Regions from separate parts of the Homo sapiens genome. Here region 2 is linked to region 1. Evidence: promoter capture Hi-C in human tissues and cell types (Jung and others, 2019). All regions are on one chromosome and are shown on one strand. Each heading gives the region's core, a stretch centred on a gene start or on the middle of the fragment in contact. The rest is flanking DNA. Distances are from core to core; before and after follow the strand shown. Region 1 holds the start of TESC (tescalcin). Region 2 overlaps MED13L (mediator complex subunit 13L).

Region 1 (6,626 bases), core at 4,127-6,626:
TGTACCTCGGTCCACACACCAGACACCACTTGGCTGCTGTCACCACGGGTGCGTGGGGAAGGTGAGCTCAATCACACCCCCGGGACGCCTTCGCTCGGGCTTTTCATATGAATCTTAACAATCTAGATGTGAGCCTTCTTGGCTCAGAAAAGATTCCTGGGAATACTCGTTTCCGGTTTAAATCAATCAATGAGACTCTAACAGGCAGGGAGAAGGAAGGTGGGCACGCAGACCTGATGATGCCCTGTGTGGCAAGCTGCTGCTCAGGCATATTTTTGGTGGGGCTGGGGAGATGCTGGGAGGGTTGGCAGCCGAGGACAGCTGGTGAGGGTGGCACTGGGTTTTCCAGTGGCTGCCTGTTCCTGAACAATACACCTTGAGTTTTAAAGTCCCCAGGGACTGTGCCCCTTTAACGTGAGCCTCTTATGCTCTCACTGAACCACCAAGTGCATACAAAGGTGAACAAGACACGTTCTTTCTGCTCTAGGGAGCTCCAAGTTTCGAAGGGGTGGCAGGTGACAGAGTTGACAAGTATAACATGGTGTGATGCCTGCTATTGCGGGCTCCAGGAGCGCTGAGGATGGGTGTTTAACCCTTAAAGGTCGGATGGAGAGATGGCTTTCTGGATGGGAGCAGCAGGTAAGCCAACCCCTGAACAATAATGAGCATTCGTTTCATAAAGAGACAGGGTTAACGCTGTGCGCGGTGGCTCACACCTGTAATCCCAGCACTTTGGGAGGCAGAGGCAGGCGGATCACTTAAGGTCAGGAGTTTCAGACCAGCCTGGCCGACATGGTGAAACCCTGTCTCTACTAAAAATACAAAAATTAGCCGAGCATGGTGGCGGGCACCTGTAATCCCAGCTACTCACGAGGCTGAGGCAGGAGAATTGCTTGAACCCAGGAGGCAGAGGTTTCAGTGAGCTGAGATCGCGCCACTGCACTCCAGCTTGGGCAACAAGAGTGAAAATTCATCTCAAAAAAAAAAAAAAAGAGAGAGAGACAAGGTTAAGAGGAAAGGTTTGAGTTTGTTTTTTCTTGTTTTTGTTTTTTGTGAGATGGAGTTCACTCTGTCGCCCAGGCTGGAGTACAGTGGCATGCTCTCAGCTCACCGCAACCTCCGCCACCCAGGTTCAAGCGATTCTCCGACCTCAGCCTCCCGAGTAGCTGGGATTACAGGCGTCTGCCACCGCGCACAGCTAATTTTTGTAGTTTTAGTAGAGACAGGGTTTCACTATCTTGGCCAGGCTGGTCTTGAACTCCTGACCTCATGATCTACCTGCCTTGGCCTCCCAAAGTGCTGGGATTATAGGCGTGAGCCACCACGCCCGGCCTAGACCTTACCCTGGGTGGAGACAGAGAAAGGCTCCCGTACGTAAACACCTGATTGTACACATCAAATGAAAACAGTGCTCCAGGCAGAGGAACAGCTTTTGTGCAAAGGCCTGAAGGTGAGAAAAAATACGGGAGTCTTTTCCTATCCCTTCTTGGTTCCTAGAAATTCAAGTGGCAGCTACACACAGTGAAAGCATGCTGGCAGTAAGAAAGCAGTCTTGGGGCCAGGCATGGTGGCTCATGCCTGTAACTCCAGCGCTTTCAAGAGGCTGAAGTGGGAGGATCACTTTGAGGCCAGGAATTTGAGACTAGTCTGATCAACATGGCAAGACCCCTGTCTCTACAGAAAAATTTAAAATTAGCTGGTGTGGTGGCGCACACCTGCAGTCATAGCTACTGGGAAGGCTGAGGTGGGAGGATCGCTGGAGCCCAGGAGTTCGAGGTTGCAGTGAGCTTGATCATGCCCCTTGCACTCCAGCCTGGGTGAGAGAGCAAGACCCTGCCTCAAAAACTAAAAATTAAAAAAAACTGTAAAAAAAGAAAGTAGGCTTGGGGATCCCATGATCTCCAACTCCTCCACTTAGCAGCTGTGGGACTGCAGGCAAGCTGGTTTACCTCTCTAAGCCTCAGTTTCCTCACCTGTAAAATGGCCCTAACACTGCCTTCCTGGGGGATCATTACTATAAAGAGTGTTATGCAGAGAGCACCAGCGTGGAGCCTGATGCTCAGCAGGTGCTTGGGGAATTATGTTCATTATCACCAGCCTCAGCCTGACCTTCTGGTCCTTTCTGGATGGTGTTCTCAGAAAGGGACCAAGCTGATTCCTCCCCAGAAAGTCAGGGGTCATCTTGGTCCTCAGGGAGGCGGGGGAGTCAGCAGCCCTGTGGGCTCAGTCTGTCCTCTGGCCACCTTACCCTGAGGCTTTTCTCCCTTTTTCTCAGGGAAGATTCCCAAGGGAATGGCCTTGGAGGAAGGGCCCTGCCTGACCCACTGGGTCTCTGGGAGCTGACGTTCCCATGCCAAGCCGATCGTCTCGCACGTAACCTTATCAAATCCACACAATGACTTCAGGATCCAGGTGGGGGTACTGAGGCTCAGAGAAGTAAGATGACTTGCCCAAGGTCATGTAGCTCAGAGAGGTGGGACCAAGACTCAACTCTCAGCTATGGCTCGGAGCGACCAGGACATACAAGAGTGTTTAAAGCATGGTCAATAACAAACCATGTACATGTGTTTGGTCTAACTACTTCATGTATATTAACTCAATCCTTCCCAACAACTTCAAGGGAGGTACTATGACTATGCCCATTTTATAGTAGATAAAACTGAGGCTCAGAGAGCATAAGTGACTTGCCCAAGGTACCTGGCAAGGCCCCTGAAGCCAGGCTCCTGCCACAGCCTGAGCCCTGACGACAGCTGTGTCCTCATCTCATGCATTCTTATTTACTGTTGCTGGCTTGTCCCTGCCACAGGGCCTCTGCATTCGACGTCCCCTCGGCCCGAGATGCCCTTTCCACTGATTTGCACACCCCTGGCTCATTCTTACTTGGATTTCTGTTCCATTATCACCTCCTCAGGGAGGACCTCCGGATCCACCCTAAAGCTCCATTCTCATGCCACCCTGCTATGCCTCGTTCACAGTTTAACACCTGTCGGGCGTTTTGTTTACTGTGTGTCCCCCTCCAGGAACAGCAGCCTCTCCGAGTCATCTCTAAATCCCCAGCCCCTGGTCTATAAATATTTGCTAAGTGGGCAAAAGTGACCGAATTACGCAGTCCCTTTCGGAGGACTGGGGGCAACTTTCCACCTACCTAAAGTTCCACCTGCCTACTCTAGTCTAACCTCAGAACCTCCTCTCCGACCCTCTCCATCTCCCTTGGGTTATGAAGTCTGAGCTCTGGGCAGCAAGAAGGGAAGCCGCTGCAGCTACATCTAGGAAGGTTACAGAGCAGGAACACAGCATCTGTCATCCCAGTGGGAGGCTGGACCCAGGAAACTGACAAGACTCCCAGCATGCTCTGCAGCCCCTCCTCCCTGTCAAACCCACAACCAGGTGGAATTCCCGAGTGCCCCGTGGGCTGCCGGAGAGCCCACCCTTCCAACGGGGATCCCAGCCACAGAGAATGCCCATCGACACCCATCCAGATTCAAAGCAGTGGGAGGCGAGGAGAGGGCACATGAGAAATAATAAAAGCAGAGGAGACCCAAGCAAGTAAGAGCTAGAGGAATCCCTCCTTTCTCTCTCATATTAGTCTTCGGATTGAAGTGCATAAAACTTTTTGAGTAAGTAAAATATCCAACATAGTTCAAAATGAACATATAAAAACGTTTACGGAGAAAAAGCTCACTCTCCCTTCATCCCTTCCACTCCCCCCGCAACCCCCACCAAGCATCCATTCGTACTTTCTGGTGGATTCTTCCAGTCTGCAAATATAGCAATTACAAATGTATACTCTTATTTTCCCCTCTTTTTACATTTTCTATTTCTTTTTACTTTGCGGCTCCAGCTCAAAGGATCCTTTTTTAAAAAACAGAAAAAAGGGTACCATATTATATATGCTGAGCCACACCTTTTACTTCTTTAGTTGGATATTTCTATATCTCTACACACACAGAGATACAGATATAGACGTATAAGTGCGTGCATACACACACCAGTTATTAATGGTTTTCTGCAATTTTCATCCAGTTCTCCTGGAAAGGGGTATTTAGATTGGGGGTCAAGAGGGGTTGCTTTTCAGCTGACACACAAACAGCTGGGCCACCCTCTCTTGGTGATCAATACTGGACGCTGGTTCTCTGCACTTGAAGCAGGTGCCAGGAGCTAGCTCTTTCCCAAAATATCTGCAGCTCCCATTTCCTGAGCGTCTACCAGGTACTAGGAGAACTCTTACAACAGAGAAGGAAAGCTGAGAATCAGAGAGGTAAAGTGACTAGCCCAAGGTCACACAGCCAGGAAGTGCAGCTGGCAGGGTTCACAGCCGGTCTGTCGCTCGCCAAAGCCGGTTTGCCCACACACCTGGCCCCCGCGGTCTCCAGTCCACACCCTGGTCCACAGCCAGAGGCAGAACTGGCCATGCCGAGTTCAGGACCCAGGGCCAAGTCCCCAGCCCGGCTGAACTCGGGCAGAGAAGCGCTTTCTCCGCCATTTCCCTGCGGGCAGCTCGGCCAGGCCTCCCAGGGCTCCCCGCCTCCGGGCCGATGCGGGGCGCGCAGCCTTTGCTGGTCCCGGGAGACTCAGCGAACTCAGGGGAGGACGCTGGGCTCCGGGCAAAGTGCTCTGCGGCCGCTGCCTCGCTAAGTCTCCCAGCCACCCGCGGGGATGAGGCTGCCTGAACCCATTTTACAGATGCGAGGACGAAAGCAGGCGCCGGGCGCCGGCTCTCCCGACTAAGGTCACCCGGCCGGGGAGCGTCGGAGACCTGTTCCCACCCAGGTCCGCCGACTTCAAAACTTTCCGCTCTCGCGCTCACGAATGCAAACGACTCTCAGGTGTGGGGCGCGCGCGCCAGCGGGGGTGCCTGAGGGACTTGCCCGCCCGGCCTGAGGCACCTGCCCTGCGCTTGGGAAGCCTGGGCCCCGCTCCCTCCCCGGTCCGCAGTCCCCCGGCCAGGGAGTTCCCGGGCCAGTCCGAAGCTGAGCGGCTGCGGCACTGAGCATCGCCGCGGAGCTCCTCGCCGCAGCCCGCGAGGTGGCCAGCGGGGACCCATTTGAAAGAGGAGGAGACTGAGGCGCAGAGAGGGCCCGCCACTGGCCCAAGGTCACACAGCGCGGCGGCGGGCCGGGGTCCCCAACAGTGGCCGTTCGGAGGTCCCGCCCCGGTCCCCGCGCCGCCCCCCGCGGGTACTCACAGCCGGTCTTGCCCTCGAGCTCCCGCACCTCCTCAGACGCGGAGTGGGCAGCGCCCATGGTGCCCGCGGCGGGGGCCCCGGGGCGCGCGTCCCTCTCAGGCCCCGCACTGGCTTCGGCTGCGCAGCGGCGGGACTGGCCTCGGGTCCGGCCTCGGGTCGGGACGCCGGCGAAGGCTCGGAGCCGCGGGTTCCGCGTGGGGCCGGAGCGGGGCCTCATATAACGGCGGAGGGCGGCGCGCCGCGGTCCTAGCGCACGCCGGTTTCGCGCACTGCGCGGCTAGGGGAGCGCCCCGCCCCGCCCCGGCCCGGAAACCGCCGGGAAGGGGACCCCGGAGCCCACCGCTCTGGAGTCCCCGTTCGTGCAGCAGTGCTCACGTACCTCGTCCCTTCCGCACACCTGCTGGATCTGGAAGGAAGCAGGTGTGAGCAAATTTGGGGGCGTGGGTAGGAGGGGTGGGACCCCTGGGAGGTGCTATGCCCACTCCCAACCCATCCCACCTTACATCCTCCAGATCTTAGGAGGGAAACTCCACTGAGATAGTCAAGGAAGTCAGCGAGCATGAAATAGCTCTATGGAGAACAACAGTAATAATAATCCTATTTGAAAATGCACCATGCGCTTTGGTTTTTTCCAGGAAAGCCCCAGCACCTTCTGAGGTGAACACACCCACGTGGCGGCCCGTGTGGGCCCTGCACAGCCCGGTGGCTGAGAGGCACCTCAAACTGCAGGAGCGGGCTGGGCGCATGGCTCACGCCTGTAATCCCAGCACTTTGGGAGGCCAAGGCGGGCGGATCACTTGAGCTCATGAGTTCGAGACCAGCCTGGCCAACATGGTGAAACCCCGTCTCTACTAAAAACACAAAAATTAGCCAGGCGCGGTGGCACATGCCTGTAATCCCAGCTACTCCGGAGGCTGAGGCAGGAGAATCACTTGCACCTGGGAGGCAGAGGTTGCAGTGAGCTGAGATCTTGCCACTGCACTCCAGCCTGGGCGACAGAGCAAGACTCTGTCTCAAAAAACAAACAAACAAAAAAACAACTGCAGAAGTGGGCCCAGGAGGCTGCATTTGGGACAAACTGCTGGAGAGAAGGCAATGCCGGTGGTCCCCATGCCCATTAGGGAAGTTCTGGGTTAAGATGGCTTGAGGGGTTGGCTCTCCATCCAGTTGGGGTGACTGGGGCCGATGCTGTTGCCTGTGTAATGTGATTCCTCCTCCTTAAAATAAGGATAAGTTAATGAGATGTCCACCAGAGGGCCTGGCGTGGACACAGCACATGGCCACAGAGGCTGGTGGGCGCTATGGAATCTTGTCCCCTGGAGAGGCACACAGCCAGGGCAGAACATCAAGGTCAAGGCTCTCCTGAAGGCTCTGCAGTGCTTAGTGACACCACCATCAATGACCGTCAGGTATCAGGTCTGTTCTGAACGTTAGTCTCGAT
Region 2 (6,626 bases), core at 2,926-5,425, 1.1 Mb before region 1:
GGTGTTTATTGCTGCTAAGCTTTTTCAGCAGACAGAGCTAAAAAAATGTGTATACTTTTTTAGAGAGGAAAAATAAATCTATGCTCATATTGATAATTCTAATTCAAAATAAAGAACACATGCATTTTTATAAACCTTCTTTGATTTTATAATAGTATGTTAAAGTCATTAGGAAAAGAACATTGCTTCACTGTCTAATAAGTTTTTGGTTTAATTTCCATCGTTTCTTTCTGAAAATATACACAGCTATGTGTGTACGTGTATATGTGTGTGAATGTGCATATCTTATAGATTACTCCATGGTAATCTCTACTCCACAGAATGATTACATAGAAATGGTCTCCATTTTGTTGTAGATGATTAATATTTCACTGTCTGGATGCACCACAGTTGATTCAATCAGTCCCTCACTGATGACACTTAGGTTCTTTCTAGTCTTGGACATATGTCATTTTCTGTTTTGGCAAAGAACCTTTGGGCTATTCCTTAGAGGTGGGATTGCTGCCCTGAAAGGGAAGTGTGTAGGGCTATATCATTCAGCAATCCCACCAACACCAGGGCCTGCTCCCCACATCTGGCCAACACAGTATGCTGCCAAATCTTTGTATTTTTGCCAATCTGTGGGCAAGAGATGGATTTCATTCTAGGTATTGCTGTTTTTAACATAAACTGCAAGTAGGGGATCTTTTGTTTTGAACCCTTAAAATTGGGATTAAAAGGTTCCAAGAAATATAAAGGAAGGAGCAAGTGTAAATGTGCGATGTTTTTAGCTGACTCTTACTCTTCTCTAATGAAGAATGTGAAGAGTCCCTGGCAGGGGAAGAAGAGGATGGCTGGTTATTATACCTTCGACACAGGCTTAACTTTACTGATAGTGATGCAATATAGACTTGGAGAAAGACCATCACATTGAACCCCATGCATCCATCCTAGATTTACCCTCTGGGCCCCACTGTTTCCTCCTTGGGCTACAGTGATTCATTTCTTTGTGACATGGTTTTGGGTCCTCCTAAATTCTACTCTCCACCTACAACTGTAATTAAAATTTCCTCAGAGTATAAGTAGATACAAGAGAAAAAAGGAACAGAATAAGATTATGGTGACTAAAACTGAAATTTCTAACCAAAATTAAATTTAAGCGTAAATCACTCATTCCTTGCAAACTTCTAATATGACACCAAACCAACCTTTAAGAAGAGAGGGCACTGGTTTTGAGCCTGGGGACACGATGACCAAAACCACTGGGGAAGATTCTCAGCTTTGGCAGTTGATACAAAATACCCAAGGGCCAGGGGCTGCTGCTTTAGCTCCTCTGGTGCTTCTCTAGAAAGAAGACGCTCACCCTGGCTCTGAAAAACAAAAATCCCAAAAACATGATCAGCATTTATCTTAAAGCTTGAAAAATGAACTTTCATCAGTTCACTCTGCACACTGCAGTGAGTGATCCCCTTTGTGGCAGCATCTCACAGAAAACAACAGGTGACTGAGAAAGGTAAGCGGGGCCAGCATCGTCTTTGCTGCACACATAGAGAAGATACCAGCAAAACTGACAGCCTCAGTCAAGTAAGTACAGATTTATTTGCTTGGGTTTCTTTTCTAAGGGATGTAAGATCTATTTCATGGCATTATGATGTAACAAACTAAAATGGAAAGATTACAATCTCTGACAGCAGAAGGCTCTACCACACGCAGGTGCTCTTTCACCAGCAACCAGCCAAAGACACACAAGCGCACCAGCCTGACCAGGACAATGTGACACCAGTATGTGCACAGCACAAAAGTTCCTGAGCTGCCAGTAGTGCAAGATCTGCTCACAGAGAAGCCATGTTTTCATTTGCAGCATTCCCCTTAATAAGAGACTCCTGGAAGAGGCTATGTTTTGCTGCAACTGACACTTTTCTTATCTTTTAATTCTTTTAGCTAGCTTCATCAATTGAAAATGTACCTTTCATGCAAGCAATAAGTAATGCATTTGTTTTTAAAAGTCTCTGTTTATGCTGGGTGCGGTGGCTCACACCTGTAATCCCAGCACTTTGTGAGGCTGAGGCGGACAGATCACTTGAGGTCAGAATTTCGAGACCTGCCTGGCGAACATGGTGAAACCCCACTCTACTAAAAATACAAAAATTAGCCAGGCACAGTAGTGCACGCCTGTAATCCCAGCTACTCAGGAGGCTGAGGCAGGAGAATCCCTTGAACCCAGGAGGCAAAGGTTGCAGTGAGCCAAGATCATGCCACTGCACTCTAGCTTGAGCAACAGAGTGAGACTCTGTCTCAAAAAAAAAAAAAAAAAAAAAAAAAACCTTCTGTTTGGAAGGAAAAAATAATCTGCAGCTACTACATCAAACTGTATCAATTCTGAGTTGGTTAAAAAAATAAAAAATTTACTGCCACTTTGAACGCATTCTCTTCCCTGCTGTAATGTCTTAACTGGATATCAAAGAATGTTTAATGGTTCAGAAAAAGGAAATGCTGAAAGCCTCTTGGAGGTCACCTGGCTGCAGGTGCTCAGGATTGAAAAAGGCCACCTGGCTAGCTTCAGAACAGCACTGTCTAAATCATGGCATTGAATTAAAGACTTTAGTGCTTAAGGCTCCAAAAAAAGGGAGAAATACAGCATACCTCTGTTTCTTACACAACTAACATTACAACTTCAATAACCAATTCTTTGTTAATGCATAAACTGAATTACAAAAACAGGTACTGGGAGGTAGTTGCTATTATTCCATTTCACAGATAAGGTAACTCAGGCTAAGAGAGGTGAAGTTAGCTTGTCCAAGGTCACAAAGCCCGTAGGCCCAGAGCTGCAATTCAAAGTTGTCTTTAACAGACTGTGGGGCATGCATTCTTAGCTGCTATGCTACTTGCCTCCAGAATTCAAATTAAACCCAACTTTAAAAAAATAGACAATGTAACATTTGTGTTTTTCGTTCCTATCACAACCGTTTCCCATGAACAAATTATCATTAACTGGTAAGTACTGCAAAGGAAACAAAGACCCTTAAAACCCCTTCCTTCCAGAAGAGGGTAATAGGGGCAGGTATAACATGGGAACAGTCTGAGATGCCCTCCTCTGGTCTTACCTGCTCTGTGACTAATCTAAGCTATAAACCTTTTTTCTCTCCAGCGTCTAATAAATTCAGTGCTGGGAATAAAAGTCCCCCCCCCCCCCCGATGAAAACTGAAGTCCTTTATGTCCATCTTTGTGTCTAAATAAATGAGTGTGAGCAGGCTGCTTATGCTTGTTCAGTCTAAGATACCAGACATAGCTATTTTTCAAAGTCTTAACTCCCCAGTCTCATAACATTTTAAATAAACAGTACAATACAGTGATGCAGCAGGAATCATCTAACTGAAGCAAAGTTACCACAAGCTGTGGCAGAACCCTCTAACTCTTAAATCTTCTGTTGTTCATCCACCTCCAATATCCCTGAGATATTTAAAGATGAAACCAGTTGTAAGCTCTGGTTTTTTCCTTAATACTCTGGCGTTAACCTGGACACATCTGTAAAATCAATCTCCTGGCGGCTCTTGCCATTCCTGCAGGTCGGCTAGAAAGAAGAAGGCTGCAAAATGACTAAGCCAGGACACGCAAAGAGCACGGCAGGCTCCTTTCAGAACAAGCCATCACCAACGTGTTCTTCAATCAGCACAATTACTCTGCATGTTGAGTAAGTACGGTTGTTGTACTAATCTCTTAAAAGCCACTATTTTGGCAAAAAATAAAACCATTAAAAAACTGGGAAGCAGCAAGCAACTAGAACTAATTTTTGCTAAGAAAACAATGCATTAAAAACCCTTGCATCTGTAATAGGACTATTCTTCTGATAAAACTTATTCATCAGAAATAATAACATATTTATTTCAAATTCCTGCCTTCTATTCAAAATGGAACCATAGTCAGTTTCCCACACTTATTTCTCTTGTACCAAGGACCCAGACCATCAAGAACTGTGCAAGTAGGAACAAGATGATCAGATGTCCAGTGGATTATCTTCCTAAAGGCTATGGTTGTCTTAAACAACGTACTCCAAATCATCCTTACCCGACTATGCTGGAAGTGAGAGCCCACACCAATTCCAGAAGGAGAGCCTGGGGAGGGTACTGGGGAAGAGTTGGGAGAGGAATGGAGGTTCCCAGTCATTAATATGCCAATATCATTGTCCATATCATCTGGGAATGGAAGGTCAACAAACATATCATCTAGAGGGAAGGGGGGAAAAAAAGCACAAAAATTAAAAAGATAGTCCACATATCAATATCATAATAATCCAACCTAACCTATGTCATGTTTTGTTGGCATATGGCTATTATGGACACACACTGTTAATAACTTAGATTCAGTTAGGACCTACTGAGTGCAAGCTATTACAAATTATTCTTTCATTTTGTACTCTCTCCAATGATCTCCTTATGTACAGTATTAACAGAATGCAATAAAGAATATAACATAAAAACCTACACTCTGCATAGCCTCCAAAGACACATAAAAGTATGGTAAAAGAGCTAAAGCAACAATTTAATCATTAAAATTGACACCATTCAAAAACACAGTAGACTCCATCTATGTATCCACTTAGCATCTAAAACACCAGAGGCTGAATGAATGCATGTTAATGAGTGTGAACTTGCCCTGAAAATGGAGACCTATTCCAAAAGCAAATCAAAGCACAATGTTTTCTCTCTTTTTTTTTTTTTGAGATGGAGTCTCCCTCTGTTGCCCAGGCTGGAGTGCAGTGGCACGATCTCGGCTCACTGCAACCTCTGCCTCCTGGGTTCAAGTGATTTCTGGCTAATTTTTGTATTTTTCATAGAGATGGGGTTTCACCACGTTGGCCAGGCTAGTCTCAAATTCCTGACCTCAAGGGATCCGCCTGCCTCAGCCTCCCAAAGTGCTAGGATTACAGGCATAAGCCACCGTGCCTGGCCCAGCATTTTCATTAAGAAATCCTCCCCAACATTATAAAAGTAAGGTACACTCACAGCAGAAAATTTGTAAAGAAAAGTATAAAAAGTGAAAACCATCACCTAGAACCCAATCACCATGATCATTTTTTTCTATGATTCTTTTATTTTCTCATATATTTGTTATTCTATTGTAATCATACCAGATATAAAATTTGGTATCCTTTTCCTCATCCCATTTACCATAAATAAACACTGGTAGGTGTTATAATTTCTTCAAAAACAATGCAAATGGATGCTGTGTTGAGTGTTTTATAGTTTATAAATAATCATTTTTTTAAACAAATACCTTAACAGCTATTCAAAAATTTCCATTAAGAATAATCAAATAAGGGTTTCTCTATAGCAAATTAGATTGCCATAGACTAGCTAAAGGAAGGTGCTCTCTTCATATTGCTTAGTACTTCACACATTTCAAATCACATCAGCAAATATTTATTGAAAGAGTGGCACCTAAGTACAGAACAGTGCCACGCAGGTATTATTTTTTGCCTTTAATGAAAAATGGAAGAAAGTTAATTGCCCAAACAAGGAAAATATTTATTTGGTCTTGTTAATTGTGCAGATAAATCAAAGCTTTAAGACCAAATAGATTCTCAAACCTTCTATCCCCTCTTTATAGTTCCTGGGTTGTTTATTACAACACAGAAAAGCCATGCGGCAGCCCAGTGATTCCATACTCCGGCTCTGCCCTGCATGAAGGTGAGCACTATCCATACAGGTCTTCTACTCACCATTGTTGGGGCTAAACCCATCTTCATTGGGGTAGTTGGCTGGAGCCACCTGGATGGTTGATGATGTTGGGAACACCAAGATGTGTGTACAAGAAGCATCTTGAGGGGTGTTGAGCTGAGATGACTGCATGTTCAGTGCAGTACTTCGGCCAAAAACAGAGCCCATTGTGACAGCATCTTTAAAGAAAAAAATAGAATTATATCAATCAATGAACAACCCCAGAAATGAGGTTTTCAGAGGGCCTGATCTGGAGTGGTATGAGTCTGATGAAAATGCCATGATAAATACACATTCAAAATTGAGTCCAATTGTTTAAATATCTTCAAAGAAACTGACTCAGAGCACATAGCTGTCTATAATAACCCAAGTTTCATTTCATACTGAAAAGGTTAAGATAAAATTGGACCAAGTCCACTAAATGTTTTAATTACTTACGTAAGAAGTATTTCTAAAAATAAACACCCTACTTTCTTTCCTCCTCTGGTTGTTCACAATTTATAAAGTACTGTTCTAAACGGTTAACAATCCTATAGAGATAGGACCATAAAATCAATACATGTTATAACACTTAATGAATGCTTACTACATGCCAGCATTTGTGCTAAACTCTTCATTCAAGTCATCGCATTTGATCATCACAGCATCTGAAGGTAGGAACTATGATCCCCATTTATAGATGAGGACAAAAGCACAAAGAAGTTACGTAACTGCCCAAGTGGTAGCGGCAACAGAGGTAACCTATAGTCTAATGAGGACATCTGTCTCTCACTGGATTGATGACAAGTAACCCCATTCTCACACCACAATACTGTTGACTTTTATAAGGAATAAGTGGGGAAGGTCCCCCATTTGATTCAAGAAATATCTGGATGGTAAAGATAGGTTATAAAAATATAAAATCGCTCAGTTACTGGTTTTCAAAAACC

Evidence for each region. Contacts are between HindIII fragments. The study calls those that stand out against the background at their distance.
Region 2: a contact is called between a fragment that was not itself captured here and the fragment with the promoter of TESC in region 1, in 1 of the 25 tissues and cell types used here (spleen).

Annotation. Positions count from the first base shown.
Region 1 is chr12:117,094,040-117,100,665 of GRCh38, forward strand. TESC (tescalcin) reads right to left here and starts at 5,377. Exons shown (of 8, transcript NM_017899.4): 1 at 5,186-5,377. The coding sequence starts at 5,243. It overlaps TESC-AS1 (TESC antisense RNA 1), which reads left to right and starts at 5,428. Exons shown (of 3, transcript NR_120464.1): 1 at 5,428-5,605; 2 at 6,414-6,601. RefSeq lists silencers at 4,773-4,872, 4,943-5,052, 5,113-5,632, 5,371-5,509, 6,376-6,593. The HindIII fragment of the contact is 11,228 bases long and covers 1-6,626 here.
Region 2 is chr12:115,964,895-115,971,520 of GRCh38, forward strand. It overlaps MED13L (mediator complex subunit 13L), which reads right to left. Exons shown (of 31, transcript NM_015335.5): 27 at 5,700-5,876; 28 at 4,046-4,203; 29 at 1,188-1,349. Among named protein-coding and RNA genes, the nearest start is that of LINC02463, 82 kb to the left of the region's middle. The HindIII fragment of the contact is 6,936 bases long and covers 708-6,626 here.